Linked DNA regions of Homo sapiens: all the other regions are linked to region 1. Evidence: promoter capture Hi-C in human tissues and cell types (Jung and others, 2019). All regions are on one chromosome and are shown on one strand. Each heading gives the region's core, a stretch centred on a gene start or on the middle of the fragment in contact. The rest is flanking DNA. Distances are from core to core; before and after follow the strand shown.

Region 1 (4,011 bases), core at 745-3,244:
CCCCACCCCCATCCTGGCACAGCTGGACCAAGGAGGGCAAAGGAGGAAGCAGGGAGTTAGAGAGGGGGCAGCTGTGGGACCCCACATTCCACCTCCTAACTCTGGGCTCTTTCCTTCCACAACCACCCCTCCTGCCCCAGGCGGGTCTCAGGCCAGTCACAGACACAGCAGAGAGCGGGGAGGTCCTTTCCTCAAAGAGGAGGAACTGAGGGGTGGAAGGATGAGTGGGGACCCACCGGGAGAGAGAGATGCCAGGCAGGCAGGCAGCGGGCGGGCAGCAGCGGGTGTTGGAGGCGACTGCAGGGCAGCCGGGACACGACGGCAGATGCTCGTCCCTCGTCCCTCTGTCCATCCAGGGCGGCTCCTCTCCGGGCGGTTCTGAGGCCGAGCGGGCGCTGTTAAAAAGCTTTTTATGTGTGTGTGTGTTAATCACATGATTGCCGTTCACCTGTATTTCGAACAAAGACAGCTCACTGTTTCAAGGCCCCGAACAAGAGTCTGGGCACAGGGAAGAGAAGGGAGGCGGGGGGAGGAGGGTTGGCAGCGCCGGGGGTGGCGTCGAGGAAAACTGGGGGGAGATTGTCCAAGGCCAGCAAGCGAGAGAAAGAGAAAACCCTTATCAAACTCCTAATTCACTGGGCTCCGAGGCCCCAGACACACTGGCCCGATTGTCTGGCTGGTTGTGTGTGTGAGCATGTGTGTGTGTGTGTGTGTGTGTGTGTGTGTGTGTTCCAGTGTCTGCTCCCCCCACCCCCAACATGCCTCTGCCTCGTGTGACTACCTCATTGTGTCCCATTTCCCACCCCCTACACCCCTTTGGACTTTCCCAAGCATGAGGCCTTGCCTCCCCAGACCCTTTGCAGCCCACTCCAGACAGGACCCCTTGGGGTGGTCTTGGGGCTTTGCCCTGCTGTTGAGGAGCTCAGAACGTCACATGGTTGCCAATGCGACCCCAGCTCCATTACATAACCCACATACACCCCACCTCGGCCTCAACACCCCGGCGGGGCTGCCCTCAGTTAAGAGAACAGCACTGCGACCTTTGGAGGAGAGGCCAAGGAAAGAGAGAGAAAAAGGTGTCAACGGAGGATGGGCAGGAAAGAAAAGGGGAGGGAGGGAGAGGTGGGCAGAGGAGGGAAGAGGCAGGGCAAGTCCCCACCCCTTGTTGGGGTGGGGGAGTAGAGGACTTCGTGACAATCAGGACTAGGACTCCCCTACCCTCTCCCAAGACAGGGTGAGCCCAGTGTGGAAGGAGCTGGGTCCCAGTAGGTAGCAACCCAAAATGCCTCTAAGACCTACTGAGAGAGGGCCCCCAACCTGTCCCACCTTGGCCTCCTGGCAGCTTTAGTCTTGTGTTTCCACCTTGAACCAGACCAGAACGCGCGTGTGCTGGGTGTCTGCAGAGAAGGGACCAGGGGTCAAGCTGGGGCTCTGCACTTCTCAGAGGGATCCCTGAGAAGTCTCTCTTACTGTGCAGGATGGGGCAGAAAGGGCTGCCTGGGAAAAGGTAGGAGGCAGGGTGAGGAGCTGGGCATCAGTGCCTGGCACACACTAGGCACTCAACAGGATTTCGCAGACGAAGCAGCTAGGGCCAGCCACCCTCACGGGCCCCCAGGACCCTCACCGCCTTCACGTCTCTCCCTAGTCCCCTGCCAAGTGCCCATCCTGCCACCTGAGGCAGACGTTAGGAGTCCTGGTTGGGCCCAATTTTCTTCCATCCAACAGGTTCTGACCCTCCAGCCTACATCTCTTCCTTCCTCGGCCTAACCTCCCCTCCACCTCCCAGACTAAGCCCAAGATAAGCCTCAGCAAGATGGGCCTGGGCAGTAGGGCAGGGAGCTGGGTGGGGGGGCCTGGGCTCCGGGTGGAGGAGCCCTGAGTGTTGGGGATGAAGGAAAGCCTGGAGGCTCCACCTTCTGCCCTTCCCTCCCTCCTCTCCCCTCCCCCCTCTCCCCCTCCTTCCTTCCCCAGCCCTCCGCAGCGGCTCAGGCTCAGTCGCTCAGTCAGTCTCGGGCTGTCCGGCCAGGGTGGTTGGTGGTAAGGATTCAGGCTCCGTCCTAACGAGGCCGTGGCCTGAGGCTCAGGGCCCCCCGCCCCTCCCTCCCAGCCCACCAGCGTCACCTCCCAGCCCCGAGCTGGACCGCACACCTTGGGACACGGTTTTCCACTTCCTAAGGACGAGCCCCAGACTGGAGGAGAGGTCCGAGGAGGTGAGTGCGCAGCCTGCTCCTCCCTGGCCCGCCCAGGCCTGGGACCCTGCTGTGAGGTGGAGAGAGGCGACACCCCGCCCTTGCCCCCCACCTGGCTCTCCTCTAAACCCCGTTGGGGCAGGCTGAGGGAAGAAGGAAAGGTGAGAGAAAAGGTGGGAAATTCCAGGGGCCGGGATTAGAGCAAAATAAAGGCTCCGTTTTTTTCTTCCTTATCATCAACAAACCTCCACCCAAAAAAGGAGGCTAAAAAAAAAGCCACCCACACCAAGAGACGGTTGGGACCAGGTGGTGGGAAGACACAGAGGCGGGACGCACCCACCTAGAGTCTGGCATGTGCGTGGGCCCCAGGGGCCAGATGGGTTTAGCTGGAGCAGGAAGGGCCGCCACCTCGGGGCTGTGCCCACGTCCTGTCTCGGGCCGCCCTCGGGGCTGCGCGCGCGGCCGCTCCATCGCGCCCTCCTTCCATCCAGGTGGGCGTTGGACTCTTTGCGAGGACCCCGGCGGCTGGCCCGGGGGAGGCGGCCGAGGCGGCGGCGGCGGCGGCCGGGGGCGACATGGCGGAGGAGCAGGACCTATCGGAGGTGGAGCTGAGCCCCGTGGGCTCGGAGGAGCCCCGCTGCCTGTCCCCGGGGAGCGCGCCCTCGCTAGGGCCCGACGGCGGCGGCGGCGGATCGGGCCTGCGAGCCAGCCCGGGGCCAGGCGAGCTGGGCAAGGTCAAGAAGGAGCAGCAGGACGGCGAGGCGGACGATGACAAGTTCCCCGTGTGCATCCGCGAGGCCGTCAGCCAGGTGCTCAGCGGCTACGACTGGACGCTGGTGCCCATGCCCGTGCGCGTCAACGGCGCCAGCAAAAGCAAGCCGCACGTCAAGCGGCCCATGAACGCCTTCATGGTGTGGGCTCAGGCAGCGCGCAGGAAGCTCGCGGACCAGTACCCGCACCTGCACAACGCTGAGCTCAGCAAGACGCTGGGCAAGCTCTGGAGGTGAGCACCCGACCGCCCCCCGGGCTCGGGCCCTCTAGCTTCGGGTGGATTCAGGGTAGCCGAGGCGGCCCGGCCTCCTGCACCTCAGAGCGGGACTGTCTGGCAGTCCTCCTTGGATAGGGCTGGAAGACCAGGTGTGGGGGCCGCGCCCGCCCTTCCATCACAAGGACCCTGGAACTCGGAACTCCAGCGGCCTAGGCCGGGTCTCCCTACGGGGCGGCGGGCAGGAAGGCGCCCCCTCGTGGTTGGAATTTTGCGGGTGGCAGACCGTGGGGCCTGGGGCTTTGGAGGGAGGGAAGGAGGCCTTCACTAACTCCTGCCCACAGATACGCACACTATGCCACCAGCTGCTGTGGTCAGGAGGATACGAGGGAAACGCTTGGAAAGAACCAAAGGGTTGGCTGGAGATTCAGGGAAACTGAGGCAGTCAGATGGAGAACTCAGGGGAGGTTTAAAGAAAACGGAATTCAGATGAGAGTCTTTGGAAGAGTGAGGGATGAAGAACTGCGGGACAAATCTGCTGCTGCGGGACCTCATCCTATCCTAGGGCTCTTCCCTGGGACTTTCTGACGCCACCCTCCTTTGAGTTGGGGGCTTCTTCATCCTCCTAGGGAGAGGACACACAGTAAGGGGCTCCCCCTCCTGCCCTGCCCCAGAGTCACCAAGCTGATCTCTTTCCTCCCTCTCCCAGTTCGGCGCCATCTTCCCTGCCAGGGCCCCACCCCAACGTTGAGCAACCTCTTCCCCACTGCCCCAGAGCTGGAGCTGAGCACTCTGGCCAGAAGGAAACCTTGGCCTCCTTCCTGCCCAGGGGCCCTC
Region 2 (4,011 bases), core at 513-3,012, 470 kb before region 1:
GCCTGACTATACCACACTGAGGAGTTGGGACTGAATCCTTTTGAGTAGGGAGAGCCCACGAGGAAGGGAAACACTTGTGGTGGTTTGTGTGTTGCTGTTCTTATGCTGACATCCTCGAGGCTCAGGAGAGCCAGAGGGGATTTCAGATTTCATCAGTTCTCCACCTGGCTTTGGGGTGCCTCGGTCTCTCCCTCTCTGTAATGGGGCTAGTCGGTGATGGCCAGACTCCCAGGGAAGTTTTGCTGGCTGTCTAACTGCAGGTGTTCTCTCGTCCTACCACCCTGGAAGGAGGAGCACTTTCCCTCCTGTCTCCTCGGAGGGCTAGAGTGACGTGGCAGGATGGTCAGGATGTAGCTGGCTAGACAGGTGCTGTGGGTGCTGGGGGTTCCCTGACACCCCAGAGTGTGGGGCCCAGGCCTGACAGCTTGGGGTAATGGAGAGCGACAGAGAATAAGAGACTAGGGTTTGGCCTGGCTTTGTCATCTCTGGGTGACCTTGGCCGAGTTTCTGACCCTCTCTGGTACCCAGTCTCGCCATCTGTAAAATGGGGCAGTGGTGACTGAGTGATCGCGAGGGTCCCTCCAATAGGGCCCCCTCAGACTCCCAGAGTGAGGTGCTTCGGGTCCTTGACCGGCGGTACTTTGGGAGAGTACGAGGACCGCTAAGGAGAGGGGCGGACTCCGTGGGACCCCAGAGGGACCAGCTCCCACCCACCCCCCTTCCCGGCTCGGAGGAACCCTCTCCACCTGCCCCCTTTTGGGGGGGGGGCACAAAACCCGGGAGCGGATCCAGGAACGGGTTCTGGGAGGAGCGCTCCTGGGGCGAGGAGGAAAACCCGGGCAGGATCCAGGGCAGGAGCGGGGCCAGCAGCCCCCCGCCCCAGCCCCTGCTCCGCGCCGCGGGCCCCGCGGGAGGGGGCTTGAGGCCGGGTTAGGCCGAGGGGCGGGCAGGGCGGGGTCCCGCGGGCAGCCGGGGCTCCCGGGCTGGGGGGCGCGCGGCCTCCGCAGTGGGGCGCGGGTCACGTGTGAGGAGGGGCGAAAGTCTCGCAAAGCGGGGCGGCGTGCCGCGAGTTGGGAGTTCTCGGCGCGCCGCGGGCGGCGGGAGCTCGGGCTCCCGGGCGAGCCGGGGACGCGGCCAAGGCGGGGGCCGGGGTCCGAGACAGAGGGGGCCGCACGGAGAGTGGGAGGGGGAGAGACAGAGAAGGACAGGGGCCGCGAGGGAGACGGACAGAGACGCGCAGGGGAGAGAGGCAGCGCGGGCAGAGGGAGGCGGGGGGAGGCCGGCGGGCGACCGCGACGGAGACGGAGACCCCGCGGGCAGAGGGCGAGCGGGGCCGCAGGAGGCAGGGAGGCCGGGAGAGGGACCGGGACGCGAGCGCGGCGGAGACCCCGGCGGCAGGAGAGAGACGCGAGAGCGGTCGGGGAGGTGGCGACAGAGCCCGGCCGGCGGGGGCGGGGAGGGCGACCCCAGGCCGGGAGGCCGAGGGGTCGCGGGGCCGGGGCCGAGCGCAGCGGGGCCGGGAGTGGAGCGCAGGGCCGGGGGCAGAGCGCGCGAGCAGGAGCGGGTGACAGCGAGGGAGCTGGGCGCAGCGGGGGACGGCGGCGGGGAGGGCGCCTGCAGCGGGGGTGGGGGGCGCGGGCGGCGGGGCGCCCCGGGCCCCCGGACCCCCGCGCTGTGAGCCCGGCCGGGCCCGACGATGCTGACGCCGAGGCGGCGCCGAGGGCGCGGCGCGGGGCAGCGCTGAAAGTTGGGCGGCCCGCGGGGAGCGGCGCGGGACGGCCGGGACGCGCGGAGACCCCAAGACCCACGCGCAGACCGAGCGGCAGCCGGGGAGGGGAGCGCGGGCCGGCCGGCCGAGTTCGCGGGCAGGGGGCGCCGGGACTCCCCTTTCCGCGCCCGGGACGCCGCCCGCCGGATCGCGCCTTGGGATGTAGCGCCCGCTCGCCGCCTCCCGGACTCTCGTCGGACCCTCCGCCCAGCGGTAAGCCGCGCTCGCCCACCCCGGGCGCTGTCCGTCAGTTTGTCCCGCCGCGTGCGTGTCTGTGTGTCCCGGGCCCGCCGCTCCGGCCCCGCCCGCTCCGCACCTGATCCGGAGCCGGGTCCCGGCTGCCCGGCGCCGCGCGCGCGGTCCCGTGACTCCCCGGGAGCGGGCGGGCTCCACGGGCGGGCTCTGTCCGTCTGTCCGTCTGGGAGCGTCGCGGTCTGGGTTGTGGCCTGGAAAGGGGGAGAGAGGTGGGTGGAAGGGGTCTTGACCTCCTGCCCCAGCCATGACCTTTCCCTGCCTCCACCCACCCCAGTTGTCATGCCGGGGAGCTTCAAGGCAGGTGACTTGTGGCAAGGTGGGGGATGCCGCCTTTCCGCCTCCCCAGCTGCATCCTCGTTGCAAATGGCCCTGTGATCTGAAGAACGAAATCTCACTTCTCATGTTTTGAGCACCTACTTGGCGCCACACGACCCCAGGGCGCAGGGGCAGGGATTGGTAGAGGAGGCACTGCACGTTCACAGTGATAGACACAGGCTGGGGAGGGAGGCAGAGGCTGCTTTTTCCTCCGTGTGTAGGGAGCACCCCAAGGCAAGAGAGGTCTCAATGAGCCTCCCGCAGGGAGAACTTCCCCTGCAACCTGCCAAATGTCCCCCCACCAGTGTCAGCCTCCCTGCCCCCTACCCACATTTCTGCCCCCAGTGTCCCTGCTTCAGGATGGACAGGATGCAGGGAGTTGGGAGGTGGCAAGCTGGGTGGGGTGGAGCGGCGGGCTAGAGGCAGGGCAGCCTGGCCAGCTGACAGAGCAGGGCCTCAAGAGCAGTAGAATGTTCAGCAGCAGGTTTGGGGGAAGTGGGGAACTCAGGGAGGGAGGCCCAGAGAAGGGTTGGAGCCGTGTGTGTGTGTGTTCTCCCCCACATCCAGTCCCATGACCTCCATGGCTTCAGGCCTTTTGGGGGCAGTTAGCAGGACTTTAGGGGCCCAAGAGCCTCACTGTGGCCCTGGCTTGGCCTGTGCTGAGGGGAGCAAAAGGTGGACCAGGGCAGCTGGGGTAAGAGATGGGTGCAGCATGGTGGGAACAGAGACTGTTGGCCACTGAACTGACCCATATCCCAACTGGAGTTGGAAGGGCTGAGCCTAGAACATTCCACTCCATTCTCACTGGGAGGAGGGACTCTTTCTGGGGTGTTCCACACTGGGCAGTGGGTCTCATATGTCCTCCATTCAGCCTCCCAGAAATTAGCTCAGGTGGCTGGGAGAGCAGCCCCCTGGGCTGGTCACTCTCCTCCCAACCGTCATCTTCCACATCTGTGGCATGGGGACGTCACTCCCTGCCCCAGTGACCTCCAAGGCGGGCCCTGGGCTCAATGAGCAGTGGGCTGTTCACAGGCTGGGGAAAGCACTGGGGAGATGGGAGTAAAGACTCACTTTACCTTAAGAGAGATGAACAGCTAGTGGGTGGAGGTGGGCGTGGGGCAGTGGGAATATGGCGGAAATAGCTGACGAAGGAGGAGTGTCCAGGATTAGAGGGGGAATCTGGGGTACAATTCCTCATGGCCCTTTGGGTTATCCTTGAAAAGAAAGCTCTTCTCTCAGAAAATCCTCTGGAGTGGCTGTGACCAGGCAGAGCTGGTTGAGTTTCTGCTGGGTGACCTTGGGTGGGTGGCTTGACCTCTCTGAACCTCAGTTTCTTCAACTGGAGAATAGGTATGATGATACTGACTTCATCAGGGTGTTGAGCAGTTTCCAGACTGTGTCAGGTCTGTGAAAGCCGCGTGCGCCAGCCTGGAGCATAGTAGGTTCGTAGACATTTGCGAAAGAGAGAATGAAGTAGCTCTGGGAGATGCTGTGAGAAGATGTCTTAGCTTAGGATAAGAAGGAAGGGGAGGAGGAACAGTGTAGGCTTACAGGGCGGGCTGGTTCTTAATGTGGATCTGGGGGAGGCGGGGGCGAGTGCTAAGGGGGGTGTGAGGAGGAGGGGGCCCCTCTGCGGGGACCACTGAGTCACGAGGACATGTAAGCGACATGAC
Region 3 (4,011 bases), core at 799-3,298, 470 kb after region 1:
GGCTCAGATGTTTGTGGGGAAGTGGGTACGCCCCTGTCTGCCTCCTGCCTGGCTTGATGCCCACAGTGGGTGGGTGTGTATGTGTGCATGTGTATGTGATGGTGCGTGTGCATGCCTGTATAATTGTACATGTGAATGTGGGAGTGTGGTACCCAAAGGAACTCTGTCGCTTCCCCTGGAATGCTGGGCACCAGGGGCACTCGGTGTACCCAGCTACCTGCCTGTTCAGACCCAGTGTGCCCTCACTTCTCTGTCCACTTATCTGCAGAGACCTCTTGGCTTCTGTGCCTTATCTTTAGGCCCTGCTTAGCTTCTCGATGAAAAAATAATTAACCATAGCCTCATTTTCCAAGGCGTCCATCCCGCTCTGCTGGCCAAGTTAAAAATATTCACGAGGAGTAGGGCTGCTGGTGGGAGGAGCTGCCGCTCTGCGTGGGAGGGCAACCAAGGCCACAGAGAGGGGAAGGACGTATTGAAAGGGAGGTCTGGTGTGTGCCTGGACTCGGGGCTTGGAGAGGACAGAGGCCAGGGGCTGGGCTCCGGCCTATTCCCATTGTGGCCTCGCTGTGTGAATTTGGGCAAGTTCCTTGCCCTCTCTGAGCTCTGCTTCCTCCTTTGTTAATTGAGGAATTTGCACTAGAATTCAGTTCTCCCAAAGCATTTCTTCTGCATGTAAACAGGTGACACCCAAAACAAAAACAAATGTACAACAAATGCAAACCAAAAAAAGGCTGTGGTTAATTAAGTTTGGAAAAGGACACCAGGATATATAAAGTTAAATCTGTTTCTTTACTGCTGGGGCTTTTTTTTTTTTTTTTTTTTTTTTTGAGGGGGAGTCTCATTCTGTTGCCCGGGCTGCTGGAGTGCAGTGGCACGATATCACTGCAACCTCCGCCTCCTGGGTTCAAGCGATTCTCGTGCCTCAGCCTCCCGAGTAGCTGGGATTACAGACGCGCACTACCACGTCTAGCTAATTTTTATATTTTTAGTAGAGATGGGGTTTCGCCATATTGGTCAGGCTGGTCTCGAACTCCTGACCTCAGGTGATCCACTCGCCTCGGTCTCCCAAAGTGTCGGGATTCCAGGCATGAGCCACCGCCCCCGGCCTTAATTTAAGCAGGGCTTTTCAGAGCCTTTATTGATTGAAACCTTAATTCTTTGGATAAGTAATACATATGTCCACGGCATCTAATTCAGAAGTTGTGGAAGGCGATTAGGGAGCTCACACCTCTTTCCTGTACCGGTTGTGCCTCCTCTGTTCCTCCCTGGCAGCAGGTACCTGGCAGCTTCTAATGCATAGCGAGACTGTATCGCATGCACCAGCAGATACCGTGTAGACTCGGCCAGTATCATGGTAAGACACCACCGGCCTCCCAGGCAGGAGCGGGAGTATGGATGGCTAGTCACAGCCCGCCCCCAGCATCTCTGGGACCAACACCTGGAGGAATACCCTTTGAGAATTGTGGGGTCCCTGGTCCTCAAGTGCCACGGGAGTTTGCGTAAGAGGGGAGTTGGCAGTGCTGCCCTGCAGGTTCAGACCCCCATCTTGCAGAAAGCCCCCATGACCTCTGCCCATTGCTGTCCCCCGCGGGGCTGTCCTGCGCTCCAGGGAAGCTCCCGCGCCCGCAGTGCATGTGGGGACCCGAGAAGGGCAAGCCCAGCTTGAGTGCCCGCGGGCTGCGCCGGGCGTGAGCGGCTAGCCCCGCACGGGCGGGCGCGCTGTGGGCGTGGGGAGGCGATGCGCGTGGCCCGGGGAAGGTGTGTCGCGGCGCGCGGGGGGTGTGAGCGCGCCTGCCCGCCCCCGCCCCGCCCAGAGGCCGGGCAGGTGTGGGCGGGCGGCCAGGACCCCGCCGAGCCGGGCTGGAGAGCCGGCGGGAAACAGGAAGCAGGGGGAGGCGCAGCCGGACGGCCGGGAGGGAGGGCGTGCAGACGGACGCGCGGGGTGGCCGGGGGCCGGACGCACGACCCGGGGCGGGCGGCAATGTGGGGAGGCCCGGGCAGCCCAGGAGGCTGCGGGGACGGGGGCGGAGCCGGGGGCGCCACGGGCACCGCCCCCCTGCGCCGGCGGAGCCGCCGCCCGAGTGCGGACCCGGGAGCCCGAGGCGACTGTAGCGTGCGGGGTGAGTCGCGGGGAGCTCGGGGCGCGCCCCCGACGGCGGGTCTGCGGACGACGCCCCGGGGGTGCTTGGCCGCACATCTAGCCCTAGGGAGCCCTGGTCGACCCCCGTGCGCCTCTTGCCCGCAGACCCTGAGGACACGGCCATGCCGGGCCGGGCGGAGGCGGGGGAGGCCGAGGAGGAGGCCGGGGCCGGCTCGGGGTCTGAGGCGGAGGAGGACGCGCTGTGGGAGCGAATCGAGGGCGTCCGGCATCGGCTGGCTCGCGCCCTGAACCCGGCCAAGCTCACGCCGTATCTGCGCCAGTGCCGGGTCATCGACGAGCAGGACGAGGAGGAGGTGCTGAGCACCTACCGCTTCCCGTGCCGCGTCAACCGCACCGGTGAGCCGCGGGTCCCGAGTGGGCCACGACCTGGGCCGGCCGTGCCCTGGGGCGCAGCGCCCACAGCCGTGTAGCGCGAAGCTAGGGCTCTGCTGCCCTGGGGCTCGGTCTCCGCATCAGTAGAGTGGGCCGGCTGGGTATGCCCACCAGCCTGCCTCCTCCCCACCCACCACTGCGCCTTGGCGGTCCGCGTTGCCCACACCGGGGTCAGAGTTTTGTCTCTTGGGGTTCTCTCCCACTTCCTGGGTCCACATTAGAGCAGAAGGTTGGATGTGGCTGCCAGGGCCGGCTGGGCCTGGGACCTCCCGGTCACAGCCGGTGGACTTGGCACCTTTCCTGCGCTCTTTGATCTCCGAGTTCTGTCTGTCCCCTCCTCTGTGCACCATACACTCCTGGGGGAGTCCTTTTTCAAGTGTCAAGATCCGTCTCAGCTTTACGTGGGTCCCCACTCCCACAGGGTGTGCCTTTGAACCAGAACTCAAAAAGGCATGATGGAATGGTCTTTAATGGTGGAATTTCAGGCATGGCCAATGGGAGAAGTATTTTCTTTGCTTCTGGGGATAGAGGGGGCTTCTCTGTGCCATTGAAAAGGCAGGCTGCATTTGCGGGCCGGCATCTGTGTCTGTGGGGGGTGTTGGGGAGCTCTGGGAGCCCAGGAGTCATGAGGGAATGTGCTCCCCTGGCTGTGGCAGAATGGCTCTCTTCTCTTCCCTGATGTGTTGGGACAGGCCCCTGTGTGTGTCACTGGCTCAAAAATCTGGGGAACGTGGGCCTGGAGCATGGTGGGGGCAGAAGCAACCAGGCACCTGGGGAGGCCTTCCCCTAGACCCTGGGTACATCCCCCCACTACTCTGTAGGGCGCCTGATGGACATCTTGCGCTGCCGTGGCAAGAGGGGCTATGAGGCCTTCCTGGAAGCCCTGGAGTTCTACTACCCCGAACACTTCACGCTGCTCACGGGCCAGGAACCCGCCCAGCGCTGCTCCATGATCCTCGGTGAGTGGATCTGCGGTGGATGCTGGCACCTCGGACTCCAGTGCACAGGCTCCTTTCCCCATCCCTGTTAGGGAGGCGCTCCCACTATGCCTGTTGAACAGTAAGGGAAACTGAGGCATGGAGAGGCTGAAGGGGCTTGCCCAGGGCCCCACGGTAGGCTGAGGGTGGGGCTGGGTGCTAGTGCCGTTATTCCAAGTTCAGAGCCACATGCTTAAGATGGCTCTTTCTTCGTGATACTGTTTTCAGACATATGTCTGACATACACAGATGTATAGTTTTTTATGTAAAAAAATACAGAGGCTCCAGGTGACTTTGAATTTTTTTTTTTTTGAGACAGTGTCTTGCTCTGTCACCAGGCTGGAGTGCAGTGGCGCGATCTCAGCTCACTGCAACCTCCGCCTCCCAGGTTCAAGCGATTCTCCTGCCTCAGCCTCCCGAGTAGCTGGGATTACAGGCATGGGCCACCACGCCCTGCTAATTTTTGTATTTTTATTTTTAATAGAGATGGGGTTTCATCAT
Region 4 (4,011 bases), core at 901-3,400, 450 kb before region 1:
TGGTTGGGAGGGCCCGGTGGGGTGCAGAGTAGGAGGAATGAGCCGGTTCACCCCTTGCTGCTCCAAGCCCCTGTGGAGCCCAAAGCTTGGTCTCCAGCGTTTGGCTGGACCTGAAATCAGGAACCTGGGTCCTGGCTCCAACTTGCCCTGTGATCCAGTTTCTCCATCCCCATAGGACTGACTTCACAGAACCTGGCACGTAGTAGGACTGGATGTGTACCAGGTGGAAGCAAGCGTGTGACAGTATTTCTTCGAGGCAGGACAGTAGCATGCCTTGTTAGCGTGCTTTGATGCCCATTGCCCAGGCCCACATCCTGGCTTTACCACTTACAAACTGTGTGACCTTGGGCAAGTTGCTGAACCTCTCTGTGCCTTGGTTTTCTTCTAAAACAGGGGTAATGATAATTTCCTCTGAGATCATTGTGAGAATGATAGGAATCGATCAGGGTAAAGTACTGAGTAAATGCGTGCTCAATGCTCAGATGCTCAGCCTGAATTTTTGCGATGTCAGAGGGCTGCCTGGTGAGGGAGGGGCTAGGTGTACCACAGGATTTCGTGGTCCAGAAGAAGGTGGGGAGGGGGACAGCTTTCTTGAGCCCCCACCATGTGGCATGCGCTTTTGGGACAATCCACATCAGGCCCTGCAGGTAGGCACTGCGATGCTCCTTTCACCATTGGAGATACCGAGGCTCAGAGAATCCAGTGACCTGCTAGAGCCAAGTGGGACTCGGCTTGGTTCCAGCCCAGCTCTGTGTGGAACAGCACCGAGGCTGCTCTTCTTGCCCACCAGCTCCCTAGTGCAGTGAATGAAGACAAACTGGGCAGGGCCCTGTGGATGGGGCCCAGGCAGGCTCTGGGATGCTGCATCTGAAATTGAGGGGAGGAAATCAAGAGGGAGCAATGTTCAGCCTTGAGTAAAATGCACCTTATCGATCACTTACTCTGGGCTGGGCACGTGGTGTGCATGATCCCATTTGTCCTCATTACAGTCCTAGGAAGTCTGCTCTATTATTAGCTTCTCCTAAAGATGGGGCATGCAGGGACTAGAGAGGTTAAGTTCCTCGCATAAGGTCACATGGGCACAAAGTTGTTTAGAGGCTCCAGAGCTGAAGCTGCTGCACCAGGCGGGGGGTTCCTGAGACTCATGAAGAGGAGGGAGTCAGGCCTCCCAGGGACAGGGGACTGCAGGGCCTGCAGAGGGCAGTGGCAGGTGGGGACCCTGCCACAGTTTCCCCTGTGGCTCAGTCTGTCTTTGGCTCCCCTTACTCTTTGAGGGGTACAGCTCAAAGAGCCGTGGGCCTGGGGTCTTGAGTTCTCTTCCTCCCTGCAAAGTTCCACTTGTTGGAGTGGAAAGCCCCTCCAATCAAACCAGACCTGAGGGCCTCAGCTGGAGTGGGGACAGACTCTGTGCTCCACAAGGGCTGGGAAATGGGACAGTGGTGTTAATTCTGTCTATTTCTTTTTTTTTTTTTTTCCCGAGACAGAGTCTCGCTCTGTTGCCCAGACTGGAGTGCAGTGGCACGATCTTGGCTCACTGCAGCCCCTGCCTCCTGGGTTCAAGCGATTCTCCTTCCTCGGCCTCCCAGGTAGCTAGGATTACAGGCACTTGCCACCACGCCTGGCTAATTTTTGTATTTTCAGTAGAGACAGGGTTTCACCATGTTGGCCAGGCTGGTCTCGAACTCCTGACATCAGGTGATCCACCTGCCTCGGCCTCCCAAAGTGCTAAGATTACAGGTGTGAGCCACCGTGCCCGGCAAATTCTGTCTATTTCTTCCAGGAAAATCCTCTACCCTTCAGAACCCATCCTGGGTGCGCTGAGCTATGCCCTGGGCTGCGTCCCCTGACCTCCACTGCCCTGTGCTGGCTCCCTCTGGTAGGACATTTGCTGGAGAGTCAGCCTCCCCATCTAGGCCCAGGAGGGCTCAGGGATGGCTGGGGCTAAGGAGACTCAGGAGCGCCCCCCATCTGTCACCTGACTCCAAGCTCTGTCTGGGTGCCTCGTTTTGTACATTTTCCCACCTCTCCTGCCAGGGAGCCATGATGGTCTCCCCATCTTGCAGACAGAGGGAAGGAACTTCTGACCAGAGCATGTTAGTGGTGGAGTCAGGAGTGGAAGGGGTTCCCCAGCTCCCAGTCCAGCATTCTTGGTCATCAGCTTCTGCATCTTTGTCATCACCATTATCAACATCAGTTTTTGCACTTTACCTGCAATGTAATAACGCATGGTGGTTGTCATGTTCATTCAGCAGCGGCCTGGTGAGGAAGGTACCAGTATCGTCATCTCCAGTTTGCAGATGAGAAAACTGAGGTTCAAAGAGGATATGCTGGGAGGTGACAGAGCTGAGACTGAGAGCCAGGTCTTGCCACCCAAAACATATGGGTTTAACCAGCACATTTTCTCATATTGAACAGAGGCCATGTGCTGCAGATAGACAGTGAGGCCTGAGGGCTCAGAGTAGCAGGGTCAGAGAGCCTCAGGGGCTCAGGGTAGGTCTGGAGGGATGGGGAGAGCCTGGGGGTCCCAGGTTGAGCAGGGTGATGTGGCAGGAGAAGGGGTCCCGAAGCCAGAGGCTGGGGACCAGGGTGAGCCAAGGACCTGGAGCTAGTCAGACTCAAGTTAGATTTCCAGCTCAAGCTCAGCATCACCCCTCAACCCCCCGGCATCTCTGTAGCCTGCAATTCTTCAGCTGGGGAGGAGAAATAACAACCCTTCTTGTTACTGTGGTAGGTGCTTAATACATACTTGTTAAATACACAAAGGATACAGTGATGCTTCAATGAGAGAGAGGAGGCAGCGCCTGGCATGGAGTTGGCAGAAATTCCCTGAGAGGGGCTGGAGAGAGAGGATGACTGGTTCCTCGGATCCCCAAGGCTGAGCTCTGTGACCTCAGGCCAGTCACATCACCTCCCTGGTTGTCTCACCCAATAATAGTCACCTCGAAGTCTGGTGGTGGGATGACATGAGATGCATGACAACCTGGCAGGCTGGCACTGGCCACTGCTCTCTAGGCGTGAGCTTCCTGCTCCTGTCTAAAGGAGCAGAGTTTCAGGCAGGGCTGGAGCTGCTGCCTGGCTCTGGCAGGGCCTGGCGGAGGTGCCCCTGCAGTGGCCATGGTGTCTCTGGTCAGTGGCACGGATCTCGGGGAGGAGATTTGCCCTCGAAGCCTTCCAGGTAGCTGGGACCTGCCGAGGCTGCTGCAAGCTGATCAGCTTTTCTTTTGCAAAGGGAGTTGTGGGCAAGGACAGATAAGTTAGTGTCCTAAAATTGTCGGGAAAACCTAAAAGTTGACAGGGTTGGGGTGGTCTTCCTGCCTCCTCTGGACCCCCAGGAGGCAGAGTCTCCAGCCCCTCCCTAATTCCTCAGGATGGGGCAGGATGGCTGGTGTCAGTGGTGAGGCCTGAGCTTCCTTCCACAGCTGTTGACTTACTGTGCCACCTCGGACACGGTGCCATGCCCTGTTCTTGGCCTCGGTTTCCCCAGCTGGCTAATGAAGTCTGGACTAAAGACTTGCAGATTTTGGATGTTTACAGCACAGTAAAATTAAGAGAAAGCCGGATGCAGTGGCTCGTGCCTGTGATCCCAGCATTTTGGGAGACCGAGGCAGGAGGATAGCTTGAGACCAGGAGTTTGAGACCAGCCTAGGAAACATAGTAAGACCCCATCTCTATAAAAAATAGTAATAATCAATTTTTGTGTTTATTTTTATTTATTTATTTTTTGAGACGGAGTTTCACTCTTGTTGCCCAGGCTGGAGTGCAATGACACGATCTCGGCTCACTGCAACCTCCGCCTCCCAGGTTCAAGTGATTCTCCTGCCTCAGCCTCCCGAGTAGCTGGGGTTACAGGCACACACCACCACACCTGGCTAGTTTTGTATTTTTAGTAGAAACAGTTTTCTCCATGTTGGTCAGGCTGGTCTCAAACTCCTGACCTCAGGTCATCCGCCCGCCTTGGCCTCCCAAAGTGCTGGGATTACAGGCGTGAGCCACCGCACCCGGCCAATAATA
Region 5 (4,011 bases), core at 914-3,413, 410 kb before region 1:
ACATTTCTTGAATCAGCATTAGGAATAATAGTTACTTTTACTTCTACCTCTATCAAATAAGGATAACATAAAGCATCTCAGTTATACTGAAGAAGTGTTTCTTTCTTTTGTAATCAATATAGAGTTTTTCTTCAGTTTATAAATCGACTGAACAATGATTGTATTATTAATTGAAAGGAGACTTTCCCCCTTGATTTTGAAAGCAAACAGGTGACTGGAAAGAGCCAGATATACAACTTTAGTATGTAGTCAGCAAAAGATAGGATGGGGAGGGGAATATTTAAATCTTGCAGAAGAATGATCTTATGCCTTAAAAGGCATTGCCTAAGCTTGTATTTAGCTAGGTTACTTGAATTGTGTTTAATTCAGAGCGCTCATTGGAAAAAGTGGTATGGTGTACTGGTCTAGTAGTGGGTATAGTTATTTGTGTGTGTATATATATATAGATAGATGTGTGTATACACACGTTCAGTGTTTTCATTGCAGAGAGTTAGTGCAGGTAAAGATAGAACAGTTTATTAACAGTTAATTAATTTGCTGAAATCTTTTTTTTTTGGTGCAGTTAGGCCTGTCAAATTTTTACAGATATTTAAGGTTGTACTGGTTAAGTAGTAGTAATAGGAGAAATGGATAGCAATGCTTAGTCTTGCTTAATTAAAGTTTTTAAAAATTCACTTTCCTTATAACTTTTTTTCAGATCAGGATGTTTTTAAAAACCACTTTGCAGATGACAGTATCTGTTAATATTGAAACTAAAACTAGTATGTTATACTTTAAGTTCTTACTAAGATCCCTTAACTGACCTTAACTGATTTAGGATGAATTCAGGCAGTTTCTAGTTAATGACACTCAAATATGCTATATGATTATATTTTTATAGTACTTTGGTCTCTAATCCTATTTAAAATTGGTAATTTATGAACAATTTCAGCAAAATGAAATTATTTCCTTTACAAGCTTCCCAAGTTGAAGAGTTTAGGTTGTAACCTTAAATATAAACTTTGAATATTCCAATCTTTTTCTTTCGCTTAACTTGGAAGCATCTTTCCACAGCTAAATTAGGAAAGTTGGGTTGACCATTTAGCCTCGTGGGTGTGACCCCTAGTAATTTCCTTGAAACAGTGTTGAAGAATTTAGAGCATTAAAAATAAAAAATAAAAAAACCTGTAGCTTTTTGATTGTTAGTAGATGGCTATGCAGAGTTTTCTCCACTTGTCAGATTAAGAAAAAATACTGTGTGTAAAAGACAGAGGAAAAACTTTCAGAGAAAATGTAAACTTCTAGCCAGGTCTTGGAGATAATTTTGTAGTTTTCAGGGTACAAATGCATTGGCCAGAGAATAGCAATTTAAGTTGAATTTTTTAATAACTCCTTATTTGGACACCTCAGTAACTTGGGAAAAAGTAGCTTTGTTAGCAGTATGACAAATTGTGTATAAATATAATTTTTCTGTGTTTTTGAGGACTTGAATACCTTATTGCTTTGTATTATGGTAGATACATATTCCATATCAACAGTGTAAGATAACCTATTAAGCAGAAGAAACAAAGAGGCTGTGCTGTTTCTAAAAGTTAACAGTTTGAGTACATCAGGATGTAAAGAAAAATATTCCCAAGTTACAGTAATTGTCAGCAAAGTGGCTGTTGTACCTAGTTAGTTGTACTTAAGCACAGATTACTGTGCTTTTTATTAAGCAGTGTATAATGTGTCCTATTTGCTAATTTCAAGATCTATAGGTAGTGGTAGAATTCATGGTAGCTTTAGTCACAAATCAGTGTGTAATTAGTGACCTAAAGAACATCACACTTCTATTCCAGCCTTTTGTAGCAGTGTGGTTCCCACTGGGTTTCAAAGATTATGCTCTGGTAAATTTTAAAAGTATCTACTGAAATAATCCCAATAGAAGTTTCTTTCAAAATATGGCTATACTCAATAGCCCACTTGCCTTAGGTGTTAGGGGGTATATGAGTTAAGTTCTGTCGTTTACCTGAGTAAAGATTTTAAAATGTTTTTAAACATTGGAAACCATTTTTGTGAAGTACTTGTCAGTAAGCTTAGCGTGTTCGTAATGCTCACTTTCTTGCAAGCTAGAAGCATTTAGATTATAGTCTTGGATTATAATATCCTCCTTTTCCCCTCCAGTTCTTTGTTGAGAAAGACAATTTACTTTAACAGCAGTGCCATCGGTTTACTGCTGCCTTCTGTGTGCAGGAGTGTGGAGAGCTGGAGGCTTCTGGGAAGGCTTGTGTTTGTGCACACACACCATTCAATTGGAATGGTGATTTGCTGTTAGTAGATTAGAATTTCTATTTTGCTGTATTCTGTTATTAACATCTTTATTGTTACAACCACTTTAACGATTACTGATGAGCGAATTGGTTTTAAGCGATGTAAACCTGGTTTAAAGTATTATTCATTGTCTTAGAGTTTAAGGAAAGTGTTTTGTCTAGTATGTTAGCAGTTTCTAAGTCAAGAGCTGAAGGCATTTGCTGTCAGAGATAGCCCTAGGATGCCCAGCATTTTTGTTTTGGAGGGTCGTAAGGAGAGTGAGTATAAATCCAAATAGTGCAGTTTTTGTTTTGCTTGTGCTGATGAACTTTATGGTGTGATTAAATATGATTTTTTTATTACGCTCTTGAAATTGTACTCTTGAAGTTGCAGAATGGCAATTAGATGGCAGTCACTGATAGCCATGTAGAAGTTTTGATGAACATGCAACTTAATTTTAATTTCTGATCAGTTACGTTTAGTGACTGTGGCCAAACATGTGCGTACTGATTCTACACGTGTGCTAATTCCGTGACGTTTATTCACCAGCTATGTGTCGCGTGCCTACTCCTGTGTCAGGCACCTTGTTCCAGGCATTGGGGGCAGCAGTGGACAAGGCAACAGAGTCTCCATCCTGAGGTGTTACTTTTAGAAAAAGACAGTTACAAGCAAACAAACAGGATGGTTTTAGATCTGGACAGAGGTTTTCAGAGGAAGTCATCCTTGAGCTGTCACAATGCTTTGGGGTTAGGGTGTGCTGGGTAGTCAGGGATGGCACATTTGGGGTGCCTAAGGATTGCTGTGGCCCTGGGAGCCTAGGACAGTTGATCACAATTGACTATTAGAGTCAGTCTCAGAAGCTTTCCTGGAGAAAGAATTGCTGCTGTTTTGCCAGGAGGGTTTCCTTCCCCATCTGACCACACAAGAAGACCCCTTGGCCTAGAATGCCTGCCCTCATCTCCAGGTCTCCCAGGCTGTTCACCCTCCCAGGCAAAGTGGAAACTTCCTCTGTCCTAAGATCGTTTCCCACTGAACCTCCTTCATTGTCCTTCACTGCAGAGAAATAATCCTACAAGGTCTTGTGTGGAGACTGATGGTAACTTCTTTAACCCAGATAATTGAGAATTGGAACCAAAACATCTGTCTGTTAATAAATATTTTCAGTAACTAAGTTATGCTGTTTCCCTGAGTGGGAAATAACACTCCATCATATTTCTTTTTTTTTGGGCAAGAGGGGGGAGTCAAAGTCTCGCTCTGTTGCCCAGGCTGGAATGCAGTGGCGCGATCTTGGCTCACTGCAACCTCCACCTCCTGGGTTCAAGTGATTCCCAAGTAGCTGGGATTACAGGTGTGTATTACCATGCCCAGCTAATTTTTGTATTTTTAGCAGATAAGGGGTTTCACCATGTTGGTCAGGCTGGTCTCCAACTCCTGACCTCAAGTGATCCACCCACTTCGGCTTCCCAAAGCATTGGGAGTACAGGTGTGAGCCACTATGCCCGGCCTCACATCATATTTCTAATCCCGAGACTGTAGAGCTGGTGTCTCTTTTTGGAAAGGATGTCAGTAGAGAAGTGGAGTTCCCCAAAATTACAGTTTCACATATTAGTCAAGTTTCTAAAATACAGTAATAATGTTGAGAGCTGACGTAGGGACTAACTTAGTTTTTGTTTTTTTTTTTTCAAATTCTCACCTAACTTTGATTTTGCTAAATAAGGACATTAAAAAAAACCCAAAAAACTC
Region 6 (4,011 bases), core at 1,067-3,566, 360 kb before region 1:
ACTGTAAAAGAGGGAAGAGACCCCCTTGCCTTCATGGACCGTTCTGAGGATTACAGAGAGAAGGTGGGAGCTCTTTGTAAACTGTAAAGCCTGGTGCACTTTGGAGATCTGGCCTTGTGGGTGCTCATTGCTGGCCGGAATGGGGTGGGGTGGTGGATGACTGGAGTCAATTGGGAAGCACCTGCCTTGTCTGAGAGAAGAACTAAGCTCGATGTCCCAGTGGGGCAGAAGCGTGAGTCCCTCAGCCTTGGAATCAGAAGGCCTGGGGTCGGTTCCACTGAATTCACTCCCATCCTGCCCCAGCCCCTGCTTTGAGCTAAGACCTCTGTCCAGCGCCCGGACCCAGGTGAGCCCCACAGTCCCTGTCCCGAAAGAGCTGAGAGCCTGCTGGGGAAACAGTCCTAGAAACACCTCGCTAGCACCCAGTGTGGACCCAGAGGAAGGGGCTCCTAGGAGAAGTGGCCCAGGGCCCAACTCGGAAGGAAGCAGCCTTCAGAATCAGCCGCTGGAGCTGCGGGACTCGCCCACGGCCCTCAGGACTCCCTGGTAAGGTCCACGGAAGCTTCGGGGAAGAGGCAAGTGAAGTCTTCCAAGAAACTGCCATAATTCAATCAGAAAAAGAACCCTGTTAATTTAGTCAAAGAACCAGTTAATTGAATTTCTTTCCAAATCCAGGCCTATTCAGAAAGCCAGTGAATTCAATGCCTACTAAATTTAAAGTCAACTCTCCAAGTAATCTAATGAATGGCATGGCCAGCTGAGTCAAGTCCCCAATAACTCTGCTTTGAAATTGTCCAGTCCCGTGACCATCATTCAATCGGCTTAGCTTTTCTTCTTTTTTTTTTATTAAAGTGTAATTTGGGGAAACAATGGTCCACTTTGGTCAAACGACCAGAAAGTTGACGCTGAAGAAGGCCGGCGCCAGTAAAATGAGAAATTGGTCATGCCTAGCTGGGGGTGGCATTGTGTGGTGACAGGGCTCAAGGAGGGTGTTAGGTCCCCACTGTACCCCAGCCAGTGAGCCTGGGGTGTCCTTCTCGCACTCTTTGCCTCCATTTCCACATCTGCAAACTGGAGAGGCAGCTGAGCATTCAATCAGGAAGCCAAGGGGAGCGCCCTCCCAAGGATGCCTGGTGGCAGGTCCCCTTCCCTCACCATTCTGCCATCACCCTGGGCCTTGTGGGAGAGGAGCCTGCAGATTCTGTTGACCCAGTTTCCTTCTCTGTAAAATGGGGAAATTGGTCATTTAATTTAATTCGATTTATGGAATGGAAAATATTTTCACAGACATCAAAATTCAAAAGTTGGGCGGGCACGGTGGCTCACCCCTGCAGTCCCAGCACTTTGAGGCTGAGGCAGGCAAATCGCCTGAGGTTAGGAGTTCGAGACCAGCCTGGCCAACATGGTGAAACCCCATCTCTACTAAAATACAAAAAATCAGCCGGGCGTGGTGGTGCACACCTGTAATCCCAGCTACTTGGGAGGCTGAGGCAGGAGAATCGCTTGAACCTGGGAGGCGGAGGTTGTAGTGAGCCAAGATCACACCACTGCACTCCAGCCTGGGCAACAGAGTGAGACCCTGTCTCAAAAAAAAAAAAGAAGTTACCAAAGAGGGTACAGTACAGTCTCCTTCCCTCTCAGTTTCCCTTCCACCCTGTCCCCAACCTTTGTATTTTCTTTCCTAGGAACAGTCTCTTACTATTCTTAGTCATTTTTATATTATATTATTAGTATTTTTCTTATTGATTTGTAACTGCTTTTTATATACTAAAGAAAGCATGGGCTGGGTGCGGTGGCTTACGCCTGTAATCCCAGCACTTTGGGAGGCCTTGGCGGGCGGATCACGAGGTCAGGAGACCAAGACCATCCTGGTTAACATGGTGAAACCCTGTCTCTACTAAAAATACAAAAAATTAGCCGGGTGTGGTGGAGGGCGCCTATAGTCCCAGCTACTCGGGAGGCTGAGGCAGGAGAATGGCGTGAACCCGGGAGGTGGAGCTTGCAGTGAGCCGAGATTGCGCCACTGCATTCTGGCCTGGGCAAAAGAGCGATACTCTGTCTCAAAAAAAAAAAAAAAAAAAAAAGCATGACTCGCAAATATTTTTCTTCTGGGCCCATCCAGAGATGCTGTATGTACATAGAAGCAAATACACATATATTTCAAGGGGCACTTTGAATCTAAGTTTGCTGGGGCTCTTTTCAAGTCAATGGTCCGGGTGAATCTCTGTGGTCTGAATCTTGAAGCTGGAGCTAGGACCAGAGCTGGGTGACCTCTCACCATTCTGGGCTGGGAACGACTCACCCTCAGTTCCATCTCTATCCGTTTATCTTAGGCCTTTGAGGGGAGGGACTGCACCTGAGTACAGCACCCAGGCGTCTTCTGCAGCCCACAGAAGGTTCAGCTTAGGGCTGGACGCAGTGGCTCACACCTGTAATCCAAGCACTTTGGGAGGCCGAGGCGGGCAGATCATCTGATGTTGGGAGTTCGAGACCAGCCTGACCAACATGGAGAAACTCCATCTCTACTAAAAATACAAAATTAGCCGGGCGTGGTGGTGCATGCCTGTAATCCCAGCTACTTGGGAGGCTGAGGCAGGAGAATCGCTTGAACCCGGGAGGCAGACGTTGCGGCGAGTCGAGATCTCACCATTGCGCTCCAGCCTGGGCAACAAGAGTGAAACTCTGTCTCAAAAGAAAAAAAAAGAAAAGAAAAGAAGAAGAAGAAGGTTCATCTTCAGACTCCTAGTCCAGAGCTCTCAGCAATCCTCATCTTGTAATGCTGTCTACAGACTCCAAGTATGCAATGGGCCAAGCCACACCCTCTCCCTCTTCCTCCTGCCCAAGGGCAGAGATTCATGGAAGGTTGTCTGTGATGAGGAATGGAGTCGTTGCCCCGGCCCAAATCGCACCCCAGGCCTGACTCAGTTGGTGGGCCTCTGCCTTTACTGCCTTGGCAAACTCCTACACATACTTGAAGGCCCAGCTGCAGTGAAGCTCCTCTGGGAAGACTTCGTGACTCCCATCCCTTCTCTCTTATGGCTCTGATCACCTTGTCCATGTCTACACTTACCAGAGCAAGAACCGTGTTTTCTGGTTTCTCGGTCCTCCAGGATCTCCCAACGTGAATTAGCAACCGATGCATCAAAGGTGGCACCTCGGCCGGGCACGGTGGCTCACGCCTGTAATCTCAGCACTTTGGGAGGCCGAGGTGGGCAGATCATGAGGTCAGGAGATCGAGACCATCCTGGCTAACATGGTGAAACTCCGTCTCTACTAAAAATATAAAAAAATTAGCCGGGCGTGGTGGCAGGTGCCTGTAGTCCCAGCTACTGGGGAGGCTGAGGCAGGAGAATGGCGTGAACCCGGGAGGCGGAGCTTGCAGTGAGCTGAGATTGGGCCACTGCACTCCAGCCTGGGCGACAGAGCAAGACTCCGTCTCAAAAAAAAAAAGGTGGCACCACCACCATTTTGGGGCCTCCTCAGTTTCCTCATTTGAAAAGGAGGAACATAATATAAGGCCAACCACAGAGGGTTGTTGAGAGGATTAAATGAGTCAGCTCATGAAAAGCCCTTAGAACAGTCCCAGGCGCAGAGCAAGGGCACAATGTGTAGTTGCTATCGATTATGACTAGTCTTGGGATCTTGAGCAAATCCCTTCTCTTCTTCGTGGCCTCCGTTTTTTGGTTTTTGTTTTTTGTTTGAGATGGAGTCTTGCTCTGTCACCCAGGCTGAAGTGCAGTGGCGCCATCTTGGCTCACTGCAACCTCCGCCTCCTGGATTCAAGCTGTTCTACTGCCTCAGCCTCCCAAGTGGCTAGGACTACAGGCGCCCGCCACAATGCCCGGCTAATTTTTGTATCTTTTAGTAAGTATGGGGTTTCACCATGTTGGTCGGGCTGGTCTTGAACTCCTGACCTCAAGTGATCTGCCCGCTTCAGCCTGGGATTACAGGTGTGAGCCACTGCTCCTGGCCAGTTTTTGAGGGTTTTTTTTCTTTTTTCTTTTCCTTTTC
Region 7 (4,011 bases), core at 878-3,377, 330 kb after region 1:
GTATTATCACTGCCCTGCATCATGCCTCCTCCAGGAAGTCTTCCTAGGTGCCCCTGGCACTAGGCCCTGCTCACCACCCCACCATAATCCTGTGTCTACTTCTCTCCACTCAATACCATCCTGTACCCCCAGGATTTAATATCAATGACTGTCCGGGTCAGTGGCCAACAGAGACGGAGTGACAGAGATCTGTCCACGGCCCCAGTATACTGACTGGGCTATTAACCTGTCCACACACACTGACCACTGCCAATTAGCCTCTGCTGCCACCTGCTCTTGTCTAACGCAAACCCTCCACAATGGAGGAGCCTCCTTTTGCTTCTGCCTCCCCTGCAGGGCTGAACTCGCAAGATGACAGCAGTGAAGACTGCCCTGGAGGTCGGTGTCACAAAGGCCAAATTCAGGTTCCCGCGCTCTATCACTCTGCCAGAGAGTTGCTGGCAGAATTCTGCCCCACCCATCATTGGGGTGCGGTTGGAGGGTTGGAGGGGAAGCCTGCGAGGACTGTCCCTACTTGTGAGGGCTGAAACACCAATTCCCAGAGGCAGGATGGAGGCAGGTGTGTGGGGACACAGGAGGTGGAGGGGCTCACTATATCTGTTCTTGGGCAGCTCACTTCCCTTCTCTTAGTCTCAGTTTCTTTCCTCTTCTTTTAGAGATAAGGTCTCACTATGTTGCCCATGCTGAAGTACAGTGGCTTTTCACAGATGCAATGATAGCACGCTACAGCCTTGACCTCCTAGGCTCAAGCAATCCTCCCGCCTCAGCCTCTCGAGTAGCTGGGACTACAGGCTGTTGCCACTGCATCCGGCTGCCTCAGTCTCTTTACTTGAGAAATGGGACAATAACTTCCATCTCCAGAGTAATTTGGAAACCAAAGAAGAACACACACAAAGCTGTTTCATTAAGTTCTCTGTAACATGGGGGACTCTGGCTACAACTTACATCATCTGAACACCTACTATGTGCCAGGCACTCACCCTGATCACCGTCACCGGGCATGCTGAGCACTGCCATTTCTCACCCAGGCAGAGATGCTTGGAGGTTATGTAACTGAACACGATTACACAGCTGTGAAGCTGGAGCTGGACCTGGAACTGAGGTCAAACTCCACCGCCTTTGCTCCCCACACACCTGCCTACACCCTGCCTCTGGGAATGGTGTTTCAACCCTCACACAGGGGGACAATCCTCCCAGGCTTCCTCTCCAACCCCACCCCGATGGTGGGTAGGGCAGAATTCCGCCCAACTCCCTAAGTTACAAAGGGCCTCAGTTTCCTCATCTGTCCAACAGGGACCACACTGCTGCGCCTCACAGGATGACGGCTACAGGGATCAACCGCCCCCCACACCAAAGCACCCTGGGCCTCCCTCGCACTCTCCTGTTCCCCACCTGCCACCTGGAGACGCCTCTTCCCCGCCCCTCACCCTTAGGCGTGGAGGCGAATGCGCAGGTCGCCCCCATCTCAGTTTCCCCGCCATTCCCGCGCTCACCAGGGGTCCGGCTGCCGTCGCTCAGCGGGTGCCATGGGTCACGGTCGGTGGCCACGAGTAGGCACTCGGGGTCGCGCAGGTGCGCGCACGCCTCCCTCAGCTTGGCGAAGGAGAAGTGCTCGTCGTAGCCCACAAGCACGGCGCGCACGCGCGGGGCCGCGCCGTCCCCCGCGCTCGGGTCCCCGGCCAGGCGCAGCCCCGCGGCGCGCAGCTCGGCGCGCAGCCCCTCGCCGCCCAGCACGAACACGGCGCCCGGCGCGTCCGGAGGCCCGGGCAGGCGCTGGCGCAGCAGGCGCGCGGCGCACAGCGCGGAGCTGAAGAGCTGCTCGGCGCGCAGCCCCCCGAAGCCGAGGCGCGCGAAGCGCAGGGCCAGCTCGGGCCGCGCGCGCCGGCTGTTGTTGCTCACAAACAGAGCCGCCTTGCCGGCCCGCGCCAGCCGCTCCAGCAGCTCCGGGGCGCCCGGCACGGCGCGCTCGCCGTTCCACAGCACCCCGTCACAGTCGAACAGGACCCCCTGCGCCCGGCCCAGCACGTCGCGCAGGGCCGCTCCGCGCAGCCTCTCGCAGCGCGCCATGCAGCCGGCCGGCCGCCGGCCTCCCGCGCCGCGCTCTCTCCGCGGGCACGGCGCGCTCTCCCTGGCACGTTCCACGCAGCCGCCAATTGGCGCGCTGGAAGGACCGGGGGGCGGGGCGACGGCGTGGCCTGCAGCCAATGGGGGCGAGAGTCTGGGAGAGGAGCGAAGCCGCGAGCTAACGGAACTTGGAGAGAGGGGCGGATTCGTGGCCAACACCGAGGGGAAGGGACCAATGAAGAGCTAGCTTGATCCTTCTCCCCGTCCCTGGTTCTGCTGGACCAGTCGCCGCCGAGTTTCAACGCCGACTACACTCTTACGCGGTGGGAGACTGACGCTCTTCTTAACCAATAAGAATCTACAAACAAAACGCGAAGCGAAAGGCCCCGTGCCCTCCAGCCAATCAGAAGCTTAGGCGAGCTGGTTGCTGGGAGAAAAACAGATGTTAAATGAACTGCCTTTGGGTCGAATCTCATTGCCCCCTGAATCGTGGACGCTCCAGTTCAGAGCGAAGTCCCAAGAAACGTGTGTGTACGATGGGGTACGAGGCACATGGTGTCTTCTTGGGTGCTGGAGCCCTCGGTCTAGACCAGTAGTTCTTCACACTGCGTTAGAGTCCCCTGGGAACTTATTTTCAGATATCATTTACATATAGTAAAATGCATAGATCTTAAATGTACAGTTCAATGTCTTGACAAATGCTTTTGAAATCACCGATGTGTAGCAGGACAGATCCTCATGTAAGTGTTTTGGGTGAAGACTGGGCATTTTTTGGTTTGTTGGTTAGTTGGTTTAATTCCAGGGATTCTACCGTGAGCTAGGATAGGGTAGGGAAGCACTGGGCTAGAGGCTGGTAGGCTGTCACTGCAGCACGCCCCGGGAGGGCAGGATCCAGAATGGTCGTGGCCAATTGCCCAGAATAGTAATGGGGTGACCCAGGTTGGCTGGGTCCCTGTCTTAGGGAGGAGGCCTTGTGATCTGGAAGCAACCACAGGTCTTGGGACCTTTGAGGAGCCACTGGTCTGCAGTGTGGGGATGAATGAATTGTGAGCTGTGGTGTCACAGTTTTGAAGTTGTCTGCCAACTTCAGATAAGGCTGTGACCCCCAGGAGCAACTGGAGCTCCAACGACTTGGGAAAAACTGTACCTTGTACCCAACCTTGGAAGCTCAACTAGCTCCTATTCCCCAAGTGCCCTAAGCCTTTTGCTCCTGGCCTTTGCATAGATAGTCTCCTTGGCCTGAATGTTCCTTTTTCCTTTAAAAATTTCACCTTCAGGGCCGGGCTCGGTGGCTCACGCCTGTAATCCCAGCACTTTGGGAGGCTGAGGTGGGCGGATCACGAGGTCAGGAGATCGAGACCATCCTGGCTACGGTGAAACCCCGTCTCTACTAAAAATACAAAAAAAAAAAAAAAAAAAAAGAAAAAAATTAGCTAGGCGTGGTGGCGGGTGCCTGTAGTCCCAGCTACTCGGGAGGCTGAGGCAGGAGAATTGCTTGAACCCAGGAGGCGGAGCTTGCAGCGACCTGAGATCGTGCCAATGCACTCCAGCCTGGGCAACAGAGCGAGACTCCATCTCAAAAAAAAATAAACAAAAAATAAAAAATAAATAAAATAAATAAAAATAAACAAAATTCACCTTCAGGTCAGCTCCTGAAAGACTTCCCTTAAATATCACCTTCTCCAGGAAGCCGTTCTTAACCACCCACCCCATACCATGAGTCTAGGTTATATGGCCACCCCTAACTTGGCTAATATGGGCTCCCAGTGCAATGACACTTGATTTTTTTTGTTTTTGAGACAGGGTCTTACACCGTCACCCAGGCTGGAGTGCAGTGGCATGATCACTGCTCACTGAAGCCTCCAACTCCTGGGCTCAAGCGATCCTCCTGCCTCAGCCTTCCTAGTTGCTGAGACTACAGGCACACGCCACTACACCCAGTTAATT

Evidence for each region. Contacts are between HindIII fragments. The study calls those that stand out against the background at their distance.
Region 2: a contact is called between the fragment with the promoter of KCNJ4 here and the fragment with the promoter of SOX10 in region 1, in 3 of the 25 tissues and cell types used here (IMR-90 fibroblasts, lymphoblastoid cells and spleen).
Region 3: the fragment with the promoter of CARD10 here is called in contact with the fragment with the promoter of SOX10 in region 1 in 1 of the 25 tissues and cell types used here (lymphoblastoid cells).
Region 4: a fragment that was not itself captured here is called in contact with the fragment with the promoter of SOX10 in region 1 in 2 of the 25 tissues and cell types used here (dorsolateral prefrontal cortex and spleen).
Region 5: a contact is called between a fragment that was not itself captured here and the fragment with the promoter of SOX10 in region 1, in 5 of the 25 tissues and cell types used here (dorsolateral prefrontal cortex, heart left ventricle, liver and 2 more).
Region 6: a contact is called between a fragment that was not itself captured here and the fragment with the promoter of SOX10 in region 1, in 2 of the 25 tissues and cell types used here (dorsolateral prefrontal cortex and spleen).
Region 7: a contact is called between the fragment with the promoter of PDXP here and the fragment with the promoter of SOX10 in region 1, in 2 of the 25 tissues and cell types used here (hippocampus and psoas muscle).

What each region holds. Positions count from the first base shown.
Region 1 is chr22:37,982,538-37,986,548 of GRCh38, reverse strand. SOX10 (SRY-box transcription factor 10) reads left to right here and starts at 1,994. Exons shown (of 4, transcript NM_006941.4): 1 at 1,994-2,210; 2 at 2,681-3,192. The coding sequence starts at 2,765. It also overlaps a transcript of POLR2F not described here. RefSeq lists enhancers at 99-933, 2,888-3,725. The HindIII fragment of the contact is 28,697 bases long and covers 1-4,011 here.
Region 2 is chr22:38,452,950-38,456,960 of GRCh38, reverse strand. KCNJ4 (potassium inwardly rectifying channel subfamily J member 4) reads left to right here and starts at 1,762. Exons shown (of 2, transcript NM_152868.3): 1 at 1,762-1,981. RefSeq lists an enhancer at 3,866-4,011. The HindIII fragment of the contact is 19,664 bases long and covers 1-4,011 here.
Region 3 is chr22:37,517,452-37,521,462 of GRCh38, reverse strand. CARD10 (caspase recruitment domain family member 10) reads left to right here and starts at 2,048. Exons shown (of 20, transcript NM_014550.4): 1 at 2,048-2,497; 2 at 3,355-3,492. The coding sequence starts at 2,263. The HindIII fragment of the contact is 30,090 bases long and covers 1-4,011 here.
Region 4 is chr22:38,433,159-38,437,169 of GRCh38, reverse strand. All of the region lies in intron 1 of KCNJ4 (potassium inwardly rectifying channel subfamily J member 4), which reads left to right. It overlaps LOC105373029 (a long non-coding RNA gene), which reads right to left and starts at 2,826. Exons shown (of 3, transcript XR_938251.3): 1 at 2,747-2,826; 2 at 2,209-2,306; 3 at 785-867. RefSeq lists an enhancer at 3,245-3,746. The HindIII fragment of the contact is 4,472 bases long and covers 1-4,011 here.
Region 5 is chr22:38,389,407-38,393,417 of GRCh38, reverse strand. The region is part of intron 1 of TPTEP2-CSNK1E (TPTEP2-CSNK1E readthrough); the gene reads left to right. It also overlaps the pseudogene TPTEP2. Among named protein-coding and RNA genes, the nearest start is that of TPTEP2-CSNK1E, 7.5 kb to the left of the region's middle. The HindIII fragment of the contact is 3,040 bases long and covers 644-3,683 here.
Region 6 is chr22:38,343,064-38,347,074 of GRCh38, reverse strand. All of the region lies in intron 4 of TPTEP2-CSNK1E (TPTEP2-CSNK1E readthrough), which reads left to right. It also overlaps the pseudogene TPTEP2. Among named protein-coding and RNA genes, the nearest start is that of CSNK1E, 28 kb to the right of the region's middle. RefSeq lists an enhancer at 2,068-2,567. The HindIII fragment of the contact is 5,046 bases long and covers 1-4,011 here.
Region 7 is chr22:37,656,839-37,660,849 of GRCh38, reverse strand. PDXP (pyridoxal phosphatase) reads right to left here and starts at 2,127. Exons shown (of 2, transcript NM_020315.5): 1 at 1,494-2,127. The coding sequence starts at 2,067. PDXP-DT (PDXP divergent transcript) reads left to right here and starts at 2,473. Exons shown (of 6, transcript NR_109952.1): 1 at 2,473-2,595. RefSeq lists enhancers at 1-412, 413-924, 1,751-2,252, 2,441-2,490, 2,501-2,570 and silencers at 1,631-1,740, 1,941-2,250. The HindIII fragment of the contact is 18,911 bases long and covers 1-4,011 here.